Regions from separate parts of the Homo sapiens genome. Here regions 1, 2, 3, 5, 6 and 7 are each linked to region 4. The links are contacts of gene promoters, found by promoter capture Hi-C in blood cells and fetal thymus (Javierre and others, 2016). All regions are on one chromosome and are shown on one strand. The core of a region is centred on a gene start or on the middle of the fragment in contact, and the rest is flanking DNA. Distances in the headings are between cores, read along the strand shown.

Region 1 (2,885 bases), core at 386-2,885, 730 kb before region 4:
TAATGACACTCCATGACAAATTATTTTCAACTTAAGTTTCTTACTTCACAGTAAGAATTTTTGATCATGTAGACTATTTAACAATACCACTAAGTAAAAAGAACAGATTTTCCAAGTTATGCAGCAATACCAGAGAGCAGGATTAAATGTTTAAAAATTTTTCATTATCTACTTCCATCACAGAAATTTTCTCTAAGGTCATTTCTATAGCGGTTATAGAGGGTCCACTGCTAAAGTGAGTAAAGATTTTTTCAATATAATGCATATACGTAAAAAACATAGTAAAGCAACTAGAAAACTAGAAATTCAGATAATCCATGTGTTTAAACTTCTTAAAGTTGGTCCAATTTACACATTTAAACCACAGAATTAAACAAAAGGCCTCTAAAATAGTTCTCAAATGTACTCAGTATTTTGACAGAATACCAAAACTAGCTAGGACCTAAGCATTTTTACAGGCTAAAAGTACCTCTTGCACTAGGGTAGTGTATCTTACTCTTGAATCCATAGTTTCATCAAAATATGTAAAAACTGCTCTTTTGTTAATTTAGATCCATTTAAGTTATTAGCCTTCTTCAGGAACTAGAAAGTAGCAAAATTTGAAGGAAAAAAGCATAATCATACATAAAAACAGAAACTTTTCTCGAAGTCCTCTCATGGTTCCATTGTGTTCATGATGTCCCAACAGCTTAATGACTCCAGTAGCGAAGATTTTTTAAGTCCCTTCACATCACTCTCATTTGAGACACTTGTAACTATCTATTTTCCTCAGAATTTAGAGACCCTTTCTGAGAATATTGGTCATACTGACATTTCTGCTATTATTTCCTTATAAACAGGCAAGAAATAACGCAGAAAAAATTGGAGTCACCAGTGTTTAATGGACCTTTTCATTCTATGAATTCACACGGGACCTAAAATTTAAAGTTTAGTGCTGATCAGAAACTAAAATGAATTCCATGATATATTTAGTAGAGCCAACAAATTTAGGAAAAGGTAACACCCAAAACATATACCAATTAAAATTTGCTGGCTTTTGTGAGTCTGGGGTTGTATTTCTTAATGAAAATACATCTTCTTAAATGTTTAAATAAACCTAAATTTAGCATTTATGTTAATTTACTTTGGTACAGATTAAAGATTAAAAGACAAAAATACTGAGATCCAAACACAAGGAAAGGGAGTGACTGGTAATACTCTTTAACAGAATATTAAAAACAATGGTATGATTTAGTCTACTAAAAAAAAATCCATACTCATTTACTAAAAAATGCTTATCAAAGGATTAGCTATGAAAAGAAAATGACCCTTCCAGATGTTACTGTAAAGAAAAACCCTGTAACAGTAACCATCAAATCAATTTCATGGCAGCAACTTGTTCCAGTTAAGTAGAGCACATCAGGAAAAAATGGACGGTCACAGATTATAGATCAAGCTAGTGGGGTGCTATAACAATGACTTTAAGTCAACTGCACCATATATTGGGGGAAAAAAAGTCAGAATGAGTAACACTGAAAAAGTTGAAAGAGAAAGGACAACATATTTAAAAGGGCATTTTGAAAAAGTTCCCATTTTGCCAGATGTGATAATTAAAGCAAAGGAGAATTAGATTTTCTTTTCAAATGACTATTTCAGAAGTCTAAGCCTAACTCAGAAAAAGAATTTGTTTATGAGGAACACAGAGCAGGATACTGTAGTAGTTGATTTGTCCAAGTCTCTAAAGGGACAGATGTAACATGGGATAATAAAAAGTGAGTTTTGAAGTATGTTTAAGAAAGTTGTGGAAAAGGAGAAAAAAAATGATGAAAAATTTCAGTCATAGTATGAGAGTTTGTGTTAAAGGGAAATTAAAAAAGGAAGAATGAACTAATCTAAAATATGAAACATACTGAAACAAACACCAGGGCTCTACATTAACTCTTTCCCTGTAGCCACAGATAAGGAAAAAAAGAGAATTGTTCAAGAATACATCTTTACTACATACAAATCAGCAATCAAGACAGATGGAGAGCTGAAATCTAGCATCCTGAATGGCAGAGCACATTGACTGCAAAAAAAATACTTAAAACAATTCAACAAAGCAGACAAAAAAAACCTGCTTAAATATATGATTAAGAAGAACATATTGATGCCAAAAACCAACAAGATAATCTCAGTGGATGATAGCTTTGTGGCCAGAAGTAATCTAGGCAGAATATATTAATGTAAAGCCCTGGTTTAAAATGCTCAAAAACAATTACCTTCCAAATAAAGTAAGTGTTCTCAAAAGTTTAAAAATGCTTGATCAACTCAATGTCATCAGACTACAGAATTAGAGTCAAAGATATAGGTAAATAGGCACTACAATGTAAAAGAAATTAGAAGCATCTGTTGAGTTAACTCACCTTATTAGAATGAACTGGCAAATCACATATAGAGCACAGATGGGGATAACCCTTCGGTAAGAGTCCATGGAAGTCTTCAATATTGCTACTTGGAGGAGCGCCTCTCTTTTTCTCAAAGAGAGATCTCTCTTGTAAGGGGCCAGGACCACGTCCCATTCTCTCATACTCACTGTCAAATTTATGATAGTTATGCGAGGTCTCACCAAAAAAAGAATCATCCCTACACCTTTCTCCATCTCTTAATCTGTCATCTTCATAATCCATTCTGTCATAATAACCAGATTCTTGAGAACGACTTCCATGGTCATAATCAAGCACTGGGTTGAGACTAGGACCACGATCATCAAAACTATCTCTTCTAAAGTGCCTTTTTTCTTCCCAATCATCCCTAGGTACTCTGTATGGTGGCTCCCGTGTAGCAGATCTGCCATCTCTACCATAACTCAAGGTAGGGCCTTCTTCAGTTCTCCTCCTTTTAAGCTGTAGAAGGATTTGGGGCAA
Region 2 (2,861 bases), core at 176-2,675, 990 kb before region 4:
GCCTTAACCTTTCATCCAGGCTCAAGTGATCCTCCTGTCTCAGCCTCCTGAGTAGCTAGGACTACAGGCACACATCACCATGCCCAGCTAATTTTGTTTCACTTTGTTTCGCTTTTGTAGAGACAGGGTCTCCCATTACAGACCAAGCTGGTCTTGAACTCCTAGGTACAAGCAATCCTCCCACCTTGGCCTCCCAGTGTTGGGATTACAGGCATGAGCCACTGTGTCAAGCCTAAATTTGCAGTTTCAAGCAGTATGAGCAACCTTGCCAATCATATAAAGGGAAGTTGAGGAAGATCTTCAGGTTCCAGGACACAGTTTAAATATCCAATTGTTTGAACAAAAGAAAAAAGGCTGCATCCTCTGGATTTATATACCTAACAGCTATGTAAGGATAACACATGGCTTGCCAGAAAATACACTGGACAGTCCAGAAATCCAGGTTCTCAATTCAGACCTACTCTTACCTGGTAGGTCACACGGCCTTTCCAGACAGCAGCCCTGAGATGTGCTGCAGTGCTAACATTTTATGATTCTATTACCCAAAATCTCACTTGACTCTGCAGACAGAAGAACAAACACTACTTTATTTCCCTATATTATAGTTTAACATGATTTTGAAGGTTTGCCTGGAAATCTAACCATCAAAACTTTATTTCTACAGACAAAACAAGTGTGTTTCTGCATTTCTGGGATGAGGCTGCAAAGGTTCCTGGTAGCATGAGGCATGAGTCAGATACTCCTATCCTGGGAACTGCCTAGGATATTTTAAGAGAAATATACAGAATTGGACCTTGTCAAAACCTCTTCCTTGTCAGTCATCAGTACAGTAATATACACTGGGAGACTTCAGAGAAAACCTAGATTTATTAACAGTTATCCTCGATGGCTGTTTGAATTATATTTAAATAACAATCTAGTAGAGCCAAAGAAAGTGCCTTAATTCAATGATCTTTTGTAAAGGAAATAAAAAATACTTTTTTAGTGGGGAAAAAAAAATTCCCAGAACTTATGTGAAGAAGCTCACCTTTTGGAGTAAGAAGGTATCCAAGATAGAACTATCCAAGATAGAACTAATTTAAATAGCCATATTCAGACAACCATTTATTAAAGTTCCCAATACTCCACAGGACTACCTGTTAATTCATCATTTTGATAGGAATTCAATCAGTCCTTACCTCTAATATTAATCTAATATATGGTACCACACCTCTAGTACAGTATTTTTTTTTCTTTTTTGAGACGGAGTCTTGCTCTGTTGCCCAAGCTGGACTGCAGTGGTGCGATCTCAGCTCACCACAACCTCCACCTCCCGGGTTCAAGCAACTCTCTGCCTTAGCCTCCCCAGTAACTGGGATCACAGGTGCTCACCACCATGCCCGGCTAATTTTTATATTTTTAGTAGAGACAGGGTTTCACCATCTTGACTAGGCTGGTATTGAACTCCTGACCTCGTGATCCACTCACCTCGGCATCCCAAAATGCTGGGATTACAGGCGTGAGTCACCGCGCCCGGCCTACAGTATTTTTTATTTTCATTTTTTTCTTTTTCTAGACAGAGTTTCGCTCTGTCGCCCAGGCTAGAATGCAGCGGCGCGATCTCCACTTACTGCAAGCTCTGCCTCCCGGTTCACGCCATTCTCCTGCCTCAGTCTCCCGAATAGCTGGGACTACAGGCACCTGCCACCACACTGACTAATTTTTTGTATTTTTAGTAGAGATGGGGTTTCACCGTGTTAGCCAGGATGGTCTCGATTTCCTGACCTTGTGATCCACCTGTCTTGGCCTCCCAAAGTGCTGGGATTACAGGCATGAGCCACAGCGCCCAGCCCGGCCTACAGTATTTTTAAGCAATTTTTTTTTTTTTGAGATGGAGTCTCGCTGTTGCAAAGGCTGGAGTGCAGTGGCGAGATCTTGGCTCACTGCAACCTCTGCCTCCCAGGTTCAAGCAACTCTCCTGCCTCAGCCTCCTGAGTAGCTGGGATTACAGGTGAGTGCCACCACACCTGGCTAATTTTTGTATTTTTAGTAGAGACAGGGTTTCACCATATTGGGCAGGCTGGTCTCGAACTCCTGACCTCAGGTGGTCGGCCCGCCTCAGCCTCCCAAAGTACTGGGGGATTACAGGCATAAGCCACCGCACCCAGCCTAAGCAATTTTTTAAAATACAGTACTGTTCAGCGTTACAACTACTTTCTTTAAGATCATGCTTCGGTAACTTCCCAATCTCAGACATTTTCAAAGTGTATTGTCAGTCTACAGAGAAACTCAAAACATGAAACAGATCATAATGGAAGAGTAATACATAAACTTCTACGGGATCAATGTATTTACAAAACTGGTTTTCCCAAGACCTCACACAAAACCATACAAAAGGCGGGGCACAGTGGCTCACGCCTGTAATCCCAGCACTTTGGGAGGTCGAGGCGGGTGGATCACTGGAGGTCAGGAGTTTGAGACCAGCTTGGCCAACATGGTGAAACCCCGTCTCTACTGAAAATACAAAAAGTAGCTGGGCATGGGGGTGCATGCCTGTAGTCCCAGCTACTCGGGAGACTGAGGCAGGAGAATGGCGTGAACCCAGGAGGCAGAGCTTGCAGTGAGCCGAGATTGTGCCACTGCACTCCAGCCTGGGCAACAGAGCGAGACTCTATCTCAAAAAAAAAAAAAAAAAAAAAACTTAGCAAATTGGCTGGGTGCAGTGGCTCATCCCTGTAATCCCAGCACTCTGGGAGGCCAAGGCGGGCAAATCACCTGAGGTCTCAAAAAAAAAAAGCAAGTTAATTAGAATTGTATTTAAAAACTACTTAAGGCCGGGCACGGTGTCTCATGCTTGTATTCCCAGCACTTTGGGAGGCCGA
Region 3 (2,700 bases), core at 71-2,570, 770 kb before region 4:
CGCCCACCTCGGCCTCCCGAAGTGCTGGGATTACAGATATGAGCCACCACACTGGCCGAGTTGTTTCTTATATTCATCATCTTCCCCTAACTTCCTATCTTTGTAAAATAGTTCAAAAGGCTACCTGAGGATTTATCATTCTAAGCCAGTGTCCAAAACATCTTTTTTTTTTTTATGGATGTACCACAGTTTTTTAAAAATTATTATTATACTTTAAGTTTTAGGGTACATGTGCACAATGTGCAGGTTAGTTACATATGTATACATGTGCCATGCTGGTGTGCTGCACCCATTAACTCGTCATTTAGCATTAGGTGTATCTCCTAATGCTACAAAACATCTTTTGCCTTCATGTTTGAATAAAAATGTTGTATGGCCTGGCGTGGTGGCTCAGGCCTGTAATCCCACCACTTTGGGAGGCCAAGGTGGGTGGATCATTTGAGGTCAGGAGTTCTAGAAAAGCCCGGCCAATATGGTGAAACCTTGCCTCTACCAAAAATACAAAAATTAGCCGGGCATGGTGGTGGGCGCCTGTAGTGTCAGCTACTCAGGAGGCTGAGGCAGGAGAATCGCTTGAACTCGGGAGGTGGAGGTAGCAGTGAGCCAAGATCGCGCCACTGCACTCCAGCCTGGGCGACAGAGCGGAACTGTGTCTTAAAAAAAAAAAAAAAAAAAAAAAGTTGTAACATGAGTATTTCCATGTAAATGTGCTAAAAAAAAAATTAGTTGTAACAGAATTCTGAGATGTCTGTGCTTCCTGTTGATAATCTATTGTCAATAATTCCAACTTTCAATGTTGTAGAAAATCAATTTTCTTTCCTTTTAAAAATCCTGTTCTAGGCTGGGTGCAGTGGCTCACACCTATAATCCTAGCACTTTAGGAGGCCAAGGGAGGTGGATCACTTGAGGTGAGGAGTTTGAGACCGGCCCTGGCCAACATGGTGAAACCCCATCTCTAGTAATACAAAAACTAAGCCAGGCATGGTGGCGCACAGCTGTAGTCCCAGCTACTCGGGAGCCTGAGGCAGGAGCACTGCTTGAACCTGGGAGGCAGAGGTTGCAGTGAGCTGAGATGGTGCATTCCAGCCTGAGCAACAGACTGAGACTGCATCTCAAAAAATAAAAATAAGCTGGGCGCAGCAGCTCACGCCCAGCACTTTGGGAGGCCAAAGGGGGTGGATCACGAGGTCAAGAGATTGAGGCCATCCTGGCCAACTTGGGCGAAACCCCGTCTCTAAAAATGCAAAAATTAGCTGGACATGGAGGTGCACGCTTGTAGTCCCAGCTACTCGGGAGGCTGAGGCAGGAGAATTGCTTGAACCTGGGAGGCAGAGGTTGCAGTGAGCTGAGATGGTGCCACTGCATTCCAACCTGAGCATCAGAGGGAGACTGCATCTCAAAAAATAAAAATAGGCCAGGTGCGGTGGCTCACGCCTGTAATCCCAACACTTTGGGAGGCCAAGGGGGTGGATCATGAGGTCAAGAGATTGAGACCATCCTGGCCAACATGGTGAAACCCCGTCTCTAAAAATACAAACATTAGCTGGGCGTGGTGGCACATGCTTGTAGTCCCAGCTACTGGGGAGGCTGAGGCAGGAGAATCACTGGAACCTGGGAGGCGGAGGTTGCAGTGAGCCAAGATTGCGCCACTGCACTCCGGCCTGGTGACAGAGCAAATCTCCGTCTCAAAAAAATAAATAAAAATTTAAAAATCCTGTTCTAGACGACAGCTTAAGATGTTTTAACAAATTCATATATTTCACCAGATTTTGGATAGGTAAGAGCAATTTTTTCCCAGTACTACTGCCTGGAAGTCAGCAAACCCTTTCAATTTATCAACTTAGGGCTTTATTGTGTCTTCAGCTGTTTTTCCCCTCCTGAAATGCCTCTTAGACATATTGGTTTCCAGCAGTGTCCTTTTATATTGTCTATGGAATTTTAAAATACAGAAATCTTTTAGGTTTTACAATCTTTCTCCACTAGTTTCATCTTTTAAGAATTCTCATTAAAATTCAAATATAGGCCTGGTGCGGTGGCTCACGCCTGTAATCCCAGCACTTTGGGAGGCCGAGGTGGGCGGATCACAAGGTCAGGAGATTGAGACCATCCTGGCTAACACGGTGAAACCCCATCTCTCCTAAAAATACAAAAAATTAGCCAGGCATGGTGGCAAGCGTCTGTAGTCCCAGCTACTCAGGAGGCTGAGGCAAGAGAATGGCATGAACCCGGGAGGTGGAGCTTGCAGTGAAATGAGATCATGCCACTGCACTCAGGCCTGGGCAACAGAGCAAGACTCCGTTTCAAAAAAAAAAAAAAAAAAATTCAAGCATAGTTCTCTTCTGTTTCTTTCATTAATCTACCTCCATAGGCACCATCTTTTCTCATTCCCTTGGACTCTGTTTTGAACCACTGTGATCCTTACCTTATTTGCATATTTTTTAATCGTATTTTACGCATATATACGTTTAAGCATACTTCCTTTGGCAGTTAAAGAGGATCGCAACATTTTTCAATTGGTCTGTTTTCCACTCTGAAGTCTGTGAAAAGCACCGAATTTTTTGTTTTACTATTTGGCACAGTAAGGTAACGATTAAAAAACATGGGCTCTGGGCTGGGCGCGGTGGCTCACACCTGTAATCCCAGCACTTTGGGAGGCCAAGGCCGTTGGATCACGAGGTCAGGAGATCGAGACCATCCTGG
Region 4 (2,810 bases), core at 291-2,790:
TGCCAAAACATATCTGTTGAATCAATTAATTCCTCTTCTTAAAAATCTAAAACTGGGTTGGGCGCGGTGGCTCACGCCTGTAATCCCAGCACTTTGGGAGGCCGAGGCAGGCAGATCACGAGGTCAGGAGATCGAGACCATCCTGGCCAACATGGTGAAACCCGGTGTCTACCAAAAATATAAAAATTAGCTGGGCGTGGTGGCGCGCGCCTGTAATCCCATCTACTTGGGAGGCTGAGGCAGGAGAATAGCTTGAACCAGGGAGTCAGAGGTTGCAGTGAGCCGAGATGGCGCCACTGCACTCAAGCCTGGCGACAAAGACTGCCTCAAAAAAAAAAACAAAAACCTAAAAACTGGTCACAGGGTAGTGAAGTAGTTGACATCCTGCCACCAGCACAAGGTTTAAAAAGGGCCAGAGGAGTCTCAAGTCAGGCCCAGCACAGTGGGGAGAGGAAGAGCCTGAAGCTCAGCTATTTTTCTTTTTTTTCTTGAGACGGAGTCTCGCTCTGTCGCCCAGGCTGGAGTGCAGTGGCGCGATCTCGGCCCACTGCAAGCTCCGCCTCCCGGGTTCACGCCGTTCTCCTGCCTCAGCCTCCCGAGTAGCTGGGACTACAAGCGCCTGCCACCACGCCCGGCTACTTTTTCGTATTTTCAGTAGAGACGGGGTTTCACCGTGTTAGCCAGGATGGTCTCGATCTCCTAACCTCGCGATCCGCTCGCTTCGGCCTCCCAAAAGTGCTGGGATTACAGGCGTGAGCGCCCGGCCAAGCTCAGCTATTTTTTTTTCCCTTTGTGCAGGCTAATTGGCCTAATGTTCTGTGTGAATCAAACGCTTCGTAGTTGGAAACCCAAGACCCCTGTGATAAAACGCAACACGAAATTGTTTAACGTCTGTCTGCATATCCAAGTGTCTTTCAAGTTGTGAACAACGGGCGGGACCAAACAACAAAAGTACTGACGTCCTCACTTCACAAAGCCACAAGACAAGATGGCGCCGTCCTCCAGGAGCGGGAGCTGGGAACACGTCCACGCCCGGGGGGTGTGCACGCGCCCGGGCTCGCCCCAGGGAACGCTGGCGTGCACTCGGGCACCCAGTGAGCGCCGCAGTTAGTCTCCACCCATGTTTTCCGCCACTCCTTGCGCACATGCGCTCTAGGTTCTTAGCTGGATGTCTGTTGCGCCAACAGGCTCCTCCTCCCGCGCAACTGACGCAAGAAGACTGTAATCGGTTCGCAATTTATCCCGTGTGACCTTGAGTCTTTCCTGTCGCCGAGGACCGGGGCTGTCCGAGATACGGCCTTCATATCCCTCTTCCTCCCCTGGACTCTTTCTGAGCTCAGAGCCGCCGCAGCCGGGACAGGAGGGCAGGCTTTCTCCAACCATCATGCTGCGGAGCATATTACCTGTACGCCCTGGCTCCGGGAGCGGCAGTCGAGTATCCTCTGGTCAGGCGGCGCGGGCGGCGCCTCAGCGGAAGAGCGGGCCTCTGGGCCGCAGTGACCAACCCCCGCCCCTCACCCCACGTGGTTGGAGGTTTCCAGAAGCGCTGCCGCCACCGCATCGCGCAGCTCTTTGCCGTCGGAGCGCTTGTTTGCTGCCTCGTACTCCTCCATTTATCCGCCATGATAAGTGCCAGCCGAGCTGCAGCAGCCCGTCTCGTGGGCGCCGCAGCCTCCCGGGGCCCTACGGCCGCCCGCCACCAGGTGAGGAACTGGGACCTTCCCGAATGGGGTCACGGCCTCGGGCCTTGGGCCTCGGGCTTCGCTGCGGCAGGCCGCGCGCCCTTTAGGGTTTGAATTCTCCAGTATAGGTCAGGCGGGAAGGAAGGTAACGGGCCTTCCATAGTTAGCGCTGCCGGGTCAAGATTTTGCCCAAGGTTTTGCCTCCGGCTTGGGCCCTGCTGAGTCACACCCCTCGCGATCTAGAGTGTCATTTCAAAATTACCAGGTAGTGGTCCTCATGGCCTGTTCTGTGGCTGAATGGAAAGGTTTGGCCTTGGGGGTGAGGGATGCAGTCTATTGGGAAAGCCACTATTTTCAGTTTTATTTTTGGCTCCTCTACAGAATACAGAGTGTGTAAGGATCCCGTTGATACGGTGAAATAAAATAAGAAAGCTCTGAGTCGGAACTCCAGTTTTCGTGCTTAGCAACATTTTCTCAAAATCTGTGGTGTAAGATTGTACTCGTTTGTTACTTCAGAAAAAAAAGCAGATCGTGGGGCGGAGAAAAGGCTATGGAGTGGTTACTTGTTTTCTAAAATAAAAGACAAATGCTTTAGAGAACAGGAATTGTATGTGGGCATTAAGGAAGGCTTGGAAGGAGCCTGAGGTTAAGTTGTAATAAAGGTCTTTTATCCTAGTGAAACGCCACTACTTTTCTTTTTTCTTTCAAAGACCCTTAGTAACTCTAGTTCTTTTAAACTAATTGCACGGCAAGGTAAGGGGAAGTGTTTTCCCCCAGGGGACATCTGGCAATGTCTGTGGATATTTTAGGTTGTCACTTACTTACTGGGGTGCTTATTGGTTTCTAGGGTGTCGAGGCCAGGGATGCTGCTGTATATCCTACAATGCACAGAACAGCCCCCACCACAAAAATTTCGCCCAAAATTAATAGCGCCACGGTTGAGAAATCCTACTGTAATGTGATTCTAAGGCCATCTTTTATTTACCTTTTTTCGTCTTACTTATTTGGGAAACTTTAATATTTACTGTTTTAGTAGCTTAATGTATTTTATATACTAAGTGAGCCCAAGTTTTCTCTTTTTCCTCCCAGGATACACACTGGTTGGTGACTGAGTCAGTTTTTTCTTTT
Region 5 (3,093 bases), core at 246-2,745, 750 kb before region 4:
TCTATAATTGACTTGTTTAGCAACTACTTTTAAGTTTCAGTCACTATTTCAATAGGTAGTCCAAAGAAGCTGATAATTACAAAAACAAATTTCAATATATCTCAATAGGAATTATTCTTTAGTGATGTTGTGGTTTATGTATTTATGCTTTTGATCTTTATATACTTTTGGTCATAAAAATAACTGAAGTGTCAATAATAATGTCAATATTAAAAATTATTTTAATATGAATGGTCATGCCACTTTTAGTATTCAGACTCCCAGCATCTTTCAAATTAGAGAAAGTACAGCCCAACAACAATCTGAGAATACTTGAATAAGTTTAATTCTACCACAGAATTTATAATATGGTTAGAAAACACTAAATTGTTATGTAGCAAGGGTAAACTATGACAAGAGGTTCAACAGATGTTTTGATAACCCATCAATAAAGAAAGAAAAGGCCAGGCGCGGTGGCTCATGCCTGTAATCCCAGCACTTTGGGAGGCTGAGGTGGGTGGATCACCTGAGGTCAGGAGTTCAAGACCAGCCAGGCTAGCCAACATGGTGAAACCCCATTTCTACTAAAAATACAAAAATTAGCTGGGTGTGGTGGTGCATGCCTGTAATCTCAGCTACTTGGGAGGCTGAGGCAGGAAAATTGCTTGAACCCAGGAGGTAGAGGTTGCAGTGAGCCAAGATTGCACCATTGCAATCCAACCTGGGCAACAAGAGAGAAACTGTCTTTAAAAAAAAAAAAAAAAGTAAATAAAAAGTTATCTTCAGGAGAAAGCACTGCACTGAGTCTAGAGAGAACACTATACACATTTTACTTATATACCCCACTTATTTCCATAACTTGTTAAGTTTTCACAAAAGAACTGTTTTACATTCAACCTTACCTTTAATTTCTGATAATGAGGAAGGCTGCTGCAATGAGTATTCTTTGCAACTTCTTCATTTGTATAAAAGAGTGAACACAGCTTACAGTAAAACCCTGTTTTAGGTATCACATAGTCTATACCTAGAAATACAAACATACATTCTTACAAATTAAACTGAAGATTTTATTTAGTATTCACAATTTCACCTGTCAACATAATTTAAATGAAACAACATGTTTTTGAGAAGTCCAATACAGCCTAAGATAAAAAACAAAAACCGAACCATATTTTGCTTTTACCTAATTGATGTTTGAGGTCTCACCTAACTGTATTCTTAAAAAAAGAAATATAATACAGAAAAACAACACAGAAAAGCAAAACAAAAGCGTGTAACTTGCAAGAAATTTTACGAAAAAAGGGAACACATTGTGGAATAACAACAGAAAATAATACAAAATCAGAGACATGCATGAGAGGAAAATATATCAATTAAGATTTATAAATTGTTCCCCATAGAAACAAAGCAAATTTAAAATGCTATCACAGCTTATGTAAGACCAACTTTAAAATCTTATTTTAAAACCTAAGAGTTTGTTTTGAGGAGAGTGAGGAAGGTGAAGAACAAAGACTTAAATCTCACCAACAGGAACATTGGGCTGATATGGTCCAATTCTATACTCATCTGGGATTGTATAGTCGTCCTTGTTCTCATCACTTTGACCATCTGCGTTTTCACTTGTATCTTTGTTGGGATCATCAGCGTTCTCAGAAGATTCAGCACCTGGTTCTGTGTTTTCCTCATTTTTAATTCCATTTTCCAACGCTGCTTCGTTTTCTTGATCAAGTTCCTCGATCTTGTCCACCTTAATTTCAACCAAACCATCATCATTTTTGTCACCAGATTTAAATGCCATGCCCGATTTACGAAGTTTCTGAAGTTCCGAATCTTCCTCATCACCAACCTCATCTAGAGTGACAAAACCTTCCATACTCCCTGGAAAACGACGCTGTTAAGAAAGACAAATTTACTCTGCAACAATTATCCTGCAGCATCCCTTCTGTCTGCTTTACTTGAAGGGAAACGGATAGCGTCTTTGCCTTTTTTTTTTTGAGACGGAGTCTTGCTCTGTCGACCAGGCTGGGGTGCAGTGGCGCGATCTCGGCTCACTGCAACCTCCGCCTCCCTGGTTCACGCCATTCTCCTGCCTCAGCCTCCCGAGTAGCTGGGACTACAGGCGCACGCCACCACGCCCGGCTAATTTTTTTTGTAATTTTAGTAGAGACGGGGTTTCACTGTGTTAGCCAGGATGGTCTCGATCTCCTGACCTCGTGATCCACCCACCTCGGCCTCCCAAAGTGCTAGGATTACAGGCGTGAGCCACCGTGCCCGGCCGCGTCTTTGTCTTTATTCATTGGCTCAAAATAGTAACTTCTTCCTTTCTTCCAAAAAATTACTGATAATTTGAAAAATAATTTAGCTTATTTTAAAACTAAAAAATGGAAGGTCTGCCTCACACAAAGAGCAGAAGTTAAATGAGATAGGAATATTCATATTTTATCTTTTCTGAGACTACAATGCTGCTAGGCAATGTGTAAAAAACTTGATTTGGTAAAAGTTGAGCAATATCCTTTGTAAGACAGTATACTGCAAATACCTACTCTTTAGAGCAAATACTCAAACAGTGTAATGGCTAAAAAACCAAGCTCTGGGCCAGGCATGGTGGCTCACACCTGTAATTCCAGCACTTTGGGAGGCTGAGGTGGGCGGATCACCCTGAGATCTCAGGAGTTCAATACCAGCCAGGCCAACATGGCGAAACCTCGTTTCTACTAAAAATACAAGAATTAGCCTCGTGTGGTGGTGGACACCTGTAATCCCAGCTACTTGGGAGGCTGAGGCAGCAGAACTTGAACCTGGGAGGTGGAGGTTGCAGTTAGCTGAGATCACACCACCGCACTCCAGCCTGGGCAACAGAGCAAGACTCCGTCTCCAAAAAAAAAAAAAAAAAAAACAATCATGCTCTGAAGAATGACTGCCCAAGTTTAAATTTTGGCTCTGTGTCTTATAAGCAGTATGGGATTATTTAACTTCTCCATATTTCAATTTTCCTCATTTATGGACTGGAGATCACAGTATGAGATGCATATGGTTACTGTGAGGATTAAATTAATAAATTTAAACTTAGAAAAACGTATGGCATTAAATGCCATAAACATCAGTAATTATTAG
Region 6 (2,991 bases), core at 213-2,712, 830 kb before region 4:
GATAAGTAATCTGTGATGATACTAAATAGAAGCAATAATAACTAACTCCATTAAATGTCACGCTGATTGTCTGTTTTTATAGCACCGATGGTACTGTTTTATTTATTGCCAATAGACCACAACATTCACATCTGTTTTTCCTCAAGGGAACCGTATTTGCTTTTGGTTGAAGGATTTATCTATTTGATACTATCCAGAATATTGTGAAGCTATAATTTCCTGGGTTATATTTTAGATGGGTTGTCTGCATGGTGGTAAAATAAGCTTTTTCCTCTCGCCTACGTCCTTTGGAAGATCTCCTGATCATACATAACTAGGTAGGGCTTATTCTTGCTGCCGGAGCTTGGCACCCAGCTCTAGACTGTTTCTTTGAGCATTACTGCAGATTGGAGACGTGTGTGAGAGGAGCAGCGCTCAGAAATAGGGCTTGAGGCTCAAGCAGAAACTGAAGCTCTCATTCAAATGAAGATGCTCTCTCTACCGCACGATCGGCAGTGAGAAAAGGAGGATGAAAATCCTTCTCATCACAAAGAGCTTGAAGGAACCCACGTCCCCAGATTAGCAACCCTAGAGTTCATCTGCTCAGGCCGGGAAATGTGTAAGCTTCCTTGATCAGCTCCAGGCCTCACAGCACGGGAGCAGTGACCAGTAAGGAAACGTCACTGCTGTGCTTTCTGTTGGAAATTGTTCGAAAATACAGTGAACTGGCCAGGCCCAGTAGCTCATGCCTGTAATCCCAGCACTTTGAAAGGCTGAGGCAGGCAGATCATTTGAGGTCAGGAGTTCCAGACCAGCCTGGCCAACATGGTGAAACCCTGTCTGTACTAAAAATACAAAAATTAGGCGGGCATGGTAGCACGTGTCTGTAATCCCAGCTCCTCAGGAGGCTGAGGCAGAAGAATCTCTTGAGCCTGGGAGGCAGAGGTTGCAGTAAGCTGAGATCACATCATTGCACTCCAGCCTGGGTGACAGAGCAAGACTCTGTCTCAAAAAAAAAAAAAGAAAGAAAAAAGAAAATACAGTGAACTCCAGATGCCACTGGAACATGGGTTCCAGCAGCCTGGCCAAGCTATGTGTCATTCTTTTTCCTCATGATACCCAGGATGGGCTTTGTGAGGAGGCACTGTGCCGTTCCAGTGGCTTTCTGTTACAGCTGGCCACACCATACAAGCAAGTACATCATCTGCATGCACTGCTCCTCACAGGAGCTTGCACTTCATTCATATTTATTCTGCCCTCATTTAAGGTATAAGCTTAGTGTCCTAATATATTTATTTTTGGAAAGGGCCAAGTTACAAAACATCTTTTTTTTGAGGCTGCACTGTTGATATGTCATGCAGTGGCCACCAAGAAAGTATATACTCGTGTTAGATACTGATTACATCATTTACATCACGCTCAGTATTTGGAATTAAAGATGTGAATGTTCTGTGACCAGAGTAGGGATGACACAAATGGAATCAGCTCCTGGTGGACTAAGAATCTTGAAAAAATCTGGCCACCTCATCCACTACATCTGGATTGAGTGTACTGCAACAAAGAAAAACATTAAACAATTTTATATTAAAAGAATGGCTACTTTTCCTTGGTTCTTTTACCTTTGCCCATGGCATCCTTGGCCACTGCACATCGCCTGACTCCCTTGGAGCCACTTCCGACTAAAGAAGCTTTTGACGCCTGCTCCAGTCTTCCCTCACCCGTCAGTGGGATTATTTGCATTTAGAATAGTAGATAGCATTGTTGGCATCAGTTCCACATTTTCTATCAGATAACAGCAGCTGCAGTACCTCACAGCCAATATACAGATCAAAACTACACTTAGCATCAGAAATTCAGGTGTTATCCCAGTTCCTTGCTGGCTTTGGTCCTAGTGGCCCATATTTAGGAAAGTTTTGGTTTAAAAATATAGTAAATGATATTTACATGATCCTAACTGGTCATGATAGCTTTCATTTGAAAAAGAAAGTGAGATGAGATTCAATTCAGCAATGATTGAGAACTTACTCTGAGCCAGGTGGGCTGGGTTTTTGGAATGGGGGTCAGGGAACAGGTGAGGCCCAGCACCAAGACTCCTGGAGCTCACATCTAATGGGGAGGCCAGGCTTTCCACAGCACTCCCCAGTGCAATGAATAGCTAAAGGGAGACCAAGGTGACCACAGACTGTATAACAAAGGGATTTAACCCAGTCTGAGGGGTCAGTGAAAGCAACTCTGAGGAAGAAATATGTGAAATATAATCACCCTTCCTACAGAGATGAGTAGATTTTTATTTAGTGAAGGAGAACGGAAGCAAGACTTCCAGTGCTCCCATTACCATCACTAGCACTTCCACCCATCCAAGTGCCAAAGTCAGCAACCCAAGCCAGGCACGGTTTTGCACACCTGTATCCCAGCTACCTCCAGAGGCTGAGGTGGGAGGATCACTTGAGGCCAGGACCTTGAGACCAGCCTGAGTGATATAGCAAGACCCCGTCTCTAACAATAAAATTAAAAAGTTGGCCAGGCACAGTGGCTCACACCTGTAACCCCAGCACTTTGGGAGGCTGAGGTGGGTGGATCACCTGAGGTCGGGAGTTTGAGACCAGCCTGACCAACATGGAGAAACCCCCATCTCTACTAAAAATACAAGAATTAGCCAGGCATGATGGCGGGTGTGTGTAATCCCAGCTATCAGGAGGCTGAGGCAGAAGAATCGCTTGAACCTGGGAGTCGGAGGTTGCAGTGAGCCGACATTGCACCATTGCACTCTAGTCTGGGCGACAGAGTAAGACTCCGTCTCAAAAAAAAAAAAATTAAAAAGTCAAAAACCCAGGAAACTTTGTGTGGTAGACTTAATTTGGCATCCCCTAATATTTATGCCTTTGTGTAGTCCCTTTTCTAATCGGGGCTGGCCTTTGACCTTTAACCAACAGAATGTGGCAAAACTGGCAGCTTCCATTTTTGTACTTGGAGGGAAGCCAGCTACCATGTAAATTCAACTACCTGAGACCA
Region 7 (2,979 bases), core at 79-2,578, 790 kb before region 4:
AGAGAAAATAGGAATTGAAATTCAGTTTGCTTAAGTGTAACCAGAAATCCAGTAACTTCACATAAGTTAAAGGAATAGCACGGAACAAGGAATTCTGTTAATCGAACTATGGTATGTAGCTTTCTTTAAACACTAAATACCAAGGAACCATGTTAAACAAGTGTTGAAATTATGATTAAAGTAACTGGGGAATTGCTGATTTTACTTTAGAATCCTCACTAAAAATGTGGAGTTGTTTTTCTACAATTGCCATCTTCTAATTCCCACAGGAAGCATGGTATATAACAGGAAAAGAAAACTACATGGGGAACCAGAAGACCTAAGCCTGAAATCCCAGCCCTGCCCCTAACTAACTTCTGTGTAAACTCAGATAAGTCACCTTTCTCTGGGATTCAAATTTTTGCATCAGTTAAAAAAAAAGGGGTGGGGGGGAATGGGCCAAAGTCTGAGTCTTAGAGACTTGTACCAATGTTATGCTATGTCTCTAAATCTTTACTCTCCTAAGTAGACTTGTCAGCATCTAGGAAGAACAGCTAGAAATTTTCCTCTGTGATATTTTAGACTGCAAGTTGAAAAAAATAAAAAGAAATGAGGGCAGGTTCCAGGGCCTGAAATGTAGGTATGCTGCAAGGCTTTTACATTGAATTTGACCCTACATCACTTCAAGACTAATGCATAATATTAAACATCATGTTGAAGAAATAATTTTAGTTTCGTAATTTATACATAGCAGTTTCTTTGGACAGGATATATTCTCCCTTCCCCCAAGGGAAATAATGTATCTACATTTTAAAAGTGTGAAGTTTAAGAAAAAAAAGCAGCATTCCTTTTCTCTTTTTTTGAGACATGGACTCGCTCTGTTGCTTAGACTGGAGGGCAGCGGAACAATCACAGCTCACTGCAGCATCGGCCTCCTGGGCTCAAGTGATCCTCTGGCCTCTGCCTCCCAAGTACCTGGGACCACAGGCCTGTGCCACCACACCCAGCTAACTTTAAACTTTTTGTAGAAACAGGGTCTCCCTTTGTTGCCCAGGCTGGTCTCGAACTCCTGGGCCAAAGTAATCTTCCCACTTTGGCCTCCCAAAGTGCTGGGATTACAAGCATGAGCCACCACATCCAGGCACAGTGTTCTTAAATGAACAATTTTCTGGGAGCAACAGAAGAATGAAACAAAGTAATATCAAATAGACTGAGAAGAACAAACCAGCTTCTGTACTATGGAATTATACTGGGTCCAGATTAAAGTTATACATTATGCTCAGCCAAGAGTGTTACTCTGCAGGGCAACTGGATTATTTATGGTGACTAATGTAGCCGTAAGTAATCATACCCCCCTCCAGACTATTCAGATCATACAGCTGCTCAAATGGGTTACCATCACTTACTGCAACAAAGGCTATATACCACAATGTAAACTTCAGTGCTCTCTACACCATCCTTTAGAAGAATGGTTTCCAAATGACCGACTCAGGCAAGTTGGCTGTATAATAAATCCTCTGTAGTACTTTTAAAAAATTAACATGCCCAGACAACTGAGCATGTTGGGATGTAACTAAAGAACTGATTTTTGTATTTAATGCTTCATAGGTAATCATGGTGTACAGATTAGTTCAGTGGACCCAGCCAGTTCTCACTCTAGTGCTGATGTTTAGTTATCACAATTCCCCCCACCCCGCTTTTTTTTTTTTTTTTTTTTTTGAGGTGGAGTCTCACTCTGTCGCCCAGGCTAGAGTGCAACGACACCATCTTGGTTCACCACAACCTCCACCTCCCAGATTCATGCGATTCTCCTGCCTTAGCCTCCCAGGTAGCTGGGATTACAGGCACGCACCACCACAACCAGCTAATTTTCTGTATACTTTTAGTAGAGACGGGGTTTCACCATGTTGGTCAGGCTGGTCTCGAACTCTTGACCTCGTGATCCGCGTGCCTCGGCGTCCCAAAGTGTTGGGATTACAGGCATGAGCCACTGCACCCAGCCAAGACAAGATTAAAGAGCAAAACTTCTCCATCAAGCTACTTCTGTATAGGCAAGTAACATGATAATATTGTGTGTGTTTTTAAATTATTAATTCTTTAGGACATTTAAGTACCCTAGGGCAACATCAGGACTAAAAGCAGGGGCTAGAAGTCCGTCTAAGACTAGCTCTACAGTGTTGCCGGAAGTGATTCCATGTCGTGAGACTCTGCTTCCATTGTAAAAAGCAGCACAATTCCTTTTTCCTTTTTTTTTTTTTGAGACAGTCTTGCTGTGTCACCCACGCTGGAGTGCAGTGGCGTAATCTCGGATCACTGCAACCTCTGCCTTCCAGGTTGAAGCGATTCTCCTGCCTCAGCCTCCCAAGTAGCTGGAACTACAGGCGCCCGCCACCATGTCCAGCTAATTTTTGTATTTTTTTTTTCTTTTTTTTGAGTCAGAGTCTCACTCTGTTGCCCAGGCTGGAGTGCAATGGTGCGATCTCCACTCACTGCAACCTCCGCCTCCCAGATTCAAGCAATTCTCCTGCCTCAGCCTTTTGAGTAGCTGGGATTACTTACAGGCATGCACCACCACACCCAGCTAATTTTTGTAATTTTAGTACAGATGGGGTTTCACCACGTTGGCCAGGCTGGTCTTGAACTCCTGACCTCAGGTGATCCACCCACCTCGGCCTCCCAAAGTGCTGGAATTAAAGGCATGAGCCACCGTGCCTGGCCAAATTTTGTATTTTTTATTCTATTTATTTATTTATTTATTTATTTATTTATTTATTTATTTAATAGAGTTTCACTCTTGTTGCCCAGGCTGGAGTGCAATGGTGCAATCTCAGCTCACCACAACTTCCGTCTCCCGGGTTCAAGCGATTCTCCTGCCTCAGCCTCCCGAGTAGCTGGGATCACAGGCATGTGCTACCATGCCCGGCTAATTTTTTATTTTTAGTAGAGATGGGGTTTCTCCATGTTGGTCAGGCTGGTCTCAAACTCCTGACCTCAAGTCAA

What was found. The method cuts DNA at HindIII sites, captures the fragments that hold promoters and counts their contacts. A CHiCAGO score of 5 or more calls a contact.
Region 1: a contact is called between a fragment that was not itself captured here and the fragment with the promoter of HSPA9 in region 4, in 6 of 17 cell types (erythroblasts, megakaryocytes, naive CD8 T cells and 3 more). The highest score is 11.7, in erythroblasts.
Region 2: a contact is called between a fragment that was not itself captured here and the fragment with the promoter of HSPA9 in region 4, in 1 of 17 cell types (neutrophils). The highest score is 5.4, in neutrophils.
Region 3: a contact is called between a fragment that was not itself captured here and the fragment with the promoter of HSPA9 in region 4, in 12 of 17 cell types (monocytes, erythroblasts, fetal thymus and 9 more). The highest score is 13.5, in monocytes.
Region 5: a contact is called between a fragment that was not itself captured here and the fragment with the promoter of HSPA9 in region 4, in 15 of 17 cell types (erythroblasts, megakaryocytes, monocytes and 12 more). The highest score is 20.6, in erythroblasts.
Region 6: a contact is called between a fragment that was not itself captured here and the fragment with the promoter of HSPA9 in region 4, in 1 of 17 cell types (naive B cells). The highest score is 5.7, in naive B cells.
Region 7: a contact is called between a fragment that was not itself captured here and the fragment with the promoter of HSPA9 in region 4, in 4 of 17 cell types (total CD8 T cells, megakaryocytes, monocytes and 1 more). The highest score is 6.5, in total CD8 T cells.

What each region holds. Positions count from the first base shown.
Region 1 is chr5:139,307,827-139,310,711 of GRCh38, reverse strand. MATR3 (matrin 3) reads right to left here. Exons shown (of 15, transcript NM_018834.6): 2 at 2,385-2,885. Among named protein-coding and RNA genes, the nearest start is that of MATR3, 16 kb to the right of the region's middle. The HindIII fragment of the contact is 4,094 bases long and covers 1-2,885 here.
Region 2 is chr5:139,567,348-139,570,208 of GRCh38, reverse strand. The region is part of intron 1 of UBE2D2 (ubiquitin conjugating enzyme E2 D2); the gene reads right to left. Among named protein-coding and RNA genes, the nearest start is that of UBE2D2, 7.4 kb to the right of the region's middle. RefSeq lists an enhancer at 1,710-2,211. The HindIII fragment of the contact is 5,795 bases long and covers 1-2,861 here.
Region 3 is chr5:139,345,248-139,347,947 of GRCh38, reverse strand. All of the region lies in intron 1 of PAIP2 (poly(A) binding protein interacting protein 2), which reads right to left. Among named protein-coding and RNA genes, the nearest start is that of PAIP2, 4.7 kb to the right of the region's middle. The HindIII fragment of the contact is 8,536 bases long and covers 1-2,700 here.
Region 4 is chr5:138,574,131-138,576,940 of GRCh38, reverse strand. It overlaps HSPA9 (heat shock protein family A (Hsp70) member 9), which reads left to right and starts at 1,540. Exons shown (of 17, transcript NM_004134.7): 1 at 1,540-1,703. The coding sequence starts at 1,623. All of the region lies in intron 1 of LOC105379193 (a long non-coding RNA gene), which reads right to left. RefSeq lists enhancers at 946-1,085, 663-1,311, 1,226-1,505, 1,746-1,795, 1,312-1,959. The HindIII fragment of the contact is 10,827 bases long and covers 1-2,810 here.
Region 5 is chr5:139,324,073-139,327,165 of GRCh38, reverse strand. It overlaps MATR3 (matrin 3), which reads right to left. Exons shown (of 15, transcript NM_018834.6): 13 at 1,504-1,726; 14 at 882-1,003. Among named protein-coding and RNA genes, the nearest start is that of PAIP2, 16 kb to the left of the region's middle. The HindIII fragment of the contact is 5,429 bases long and covers 1-3,093 here.
Region 6 is chr5:139,408,784-139,411,774 of GRCh38, reverse strand. It overlaps DNAJC18 (DnaJ heat shock protein family (Hsp40) member C18), which reads left to right. Exons shown (of 8, transcript NM_152686.4): 8 at 1-1,572. Among named protein-coding and RNA genes, the nearest start is that of SPATA24, 6.2 kb to the right of the region's middle. The HindIII fragment of the contact is 414 bases long and covers 1,256-1,669 here.
Region 7 is chr5:139,364,922-139,367,900 of GRCh38, reverse strand. All of the region lies in intron 3 of PAIP2 (poly(A) binding protein interacting protein 2), which reads right to left. It overlaps SLC23A1 (solute carrier family 23 member 1), which reads left to right. Exons shown (of 15, transcript NM_005847.5): 15 at 270-705. Among named protein-coding and RNA genes, the nearest start is that of SLC23A1, 17 kb to the left of the region's middle. The HindIII fragment of the contact is 6,493 bases long and covers 1-2,979 here.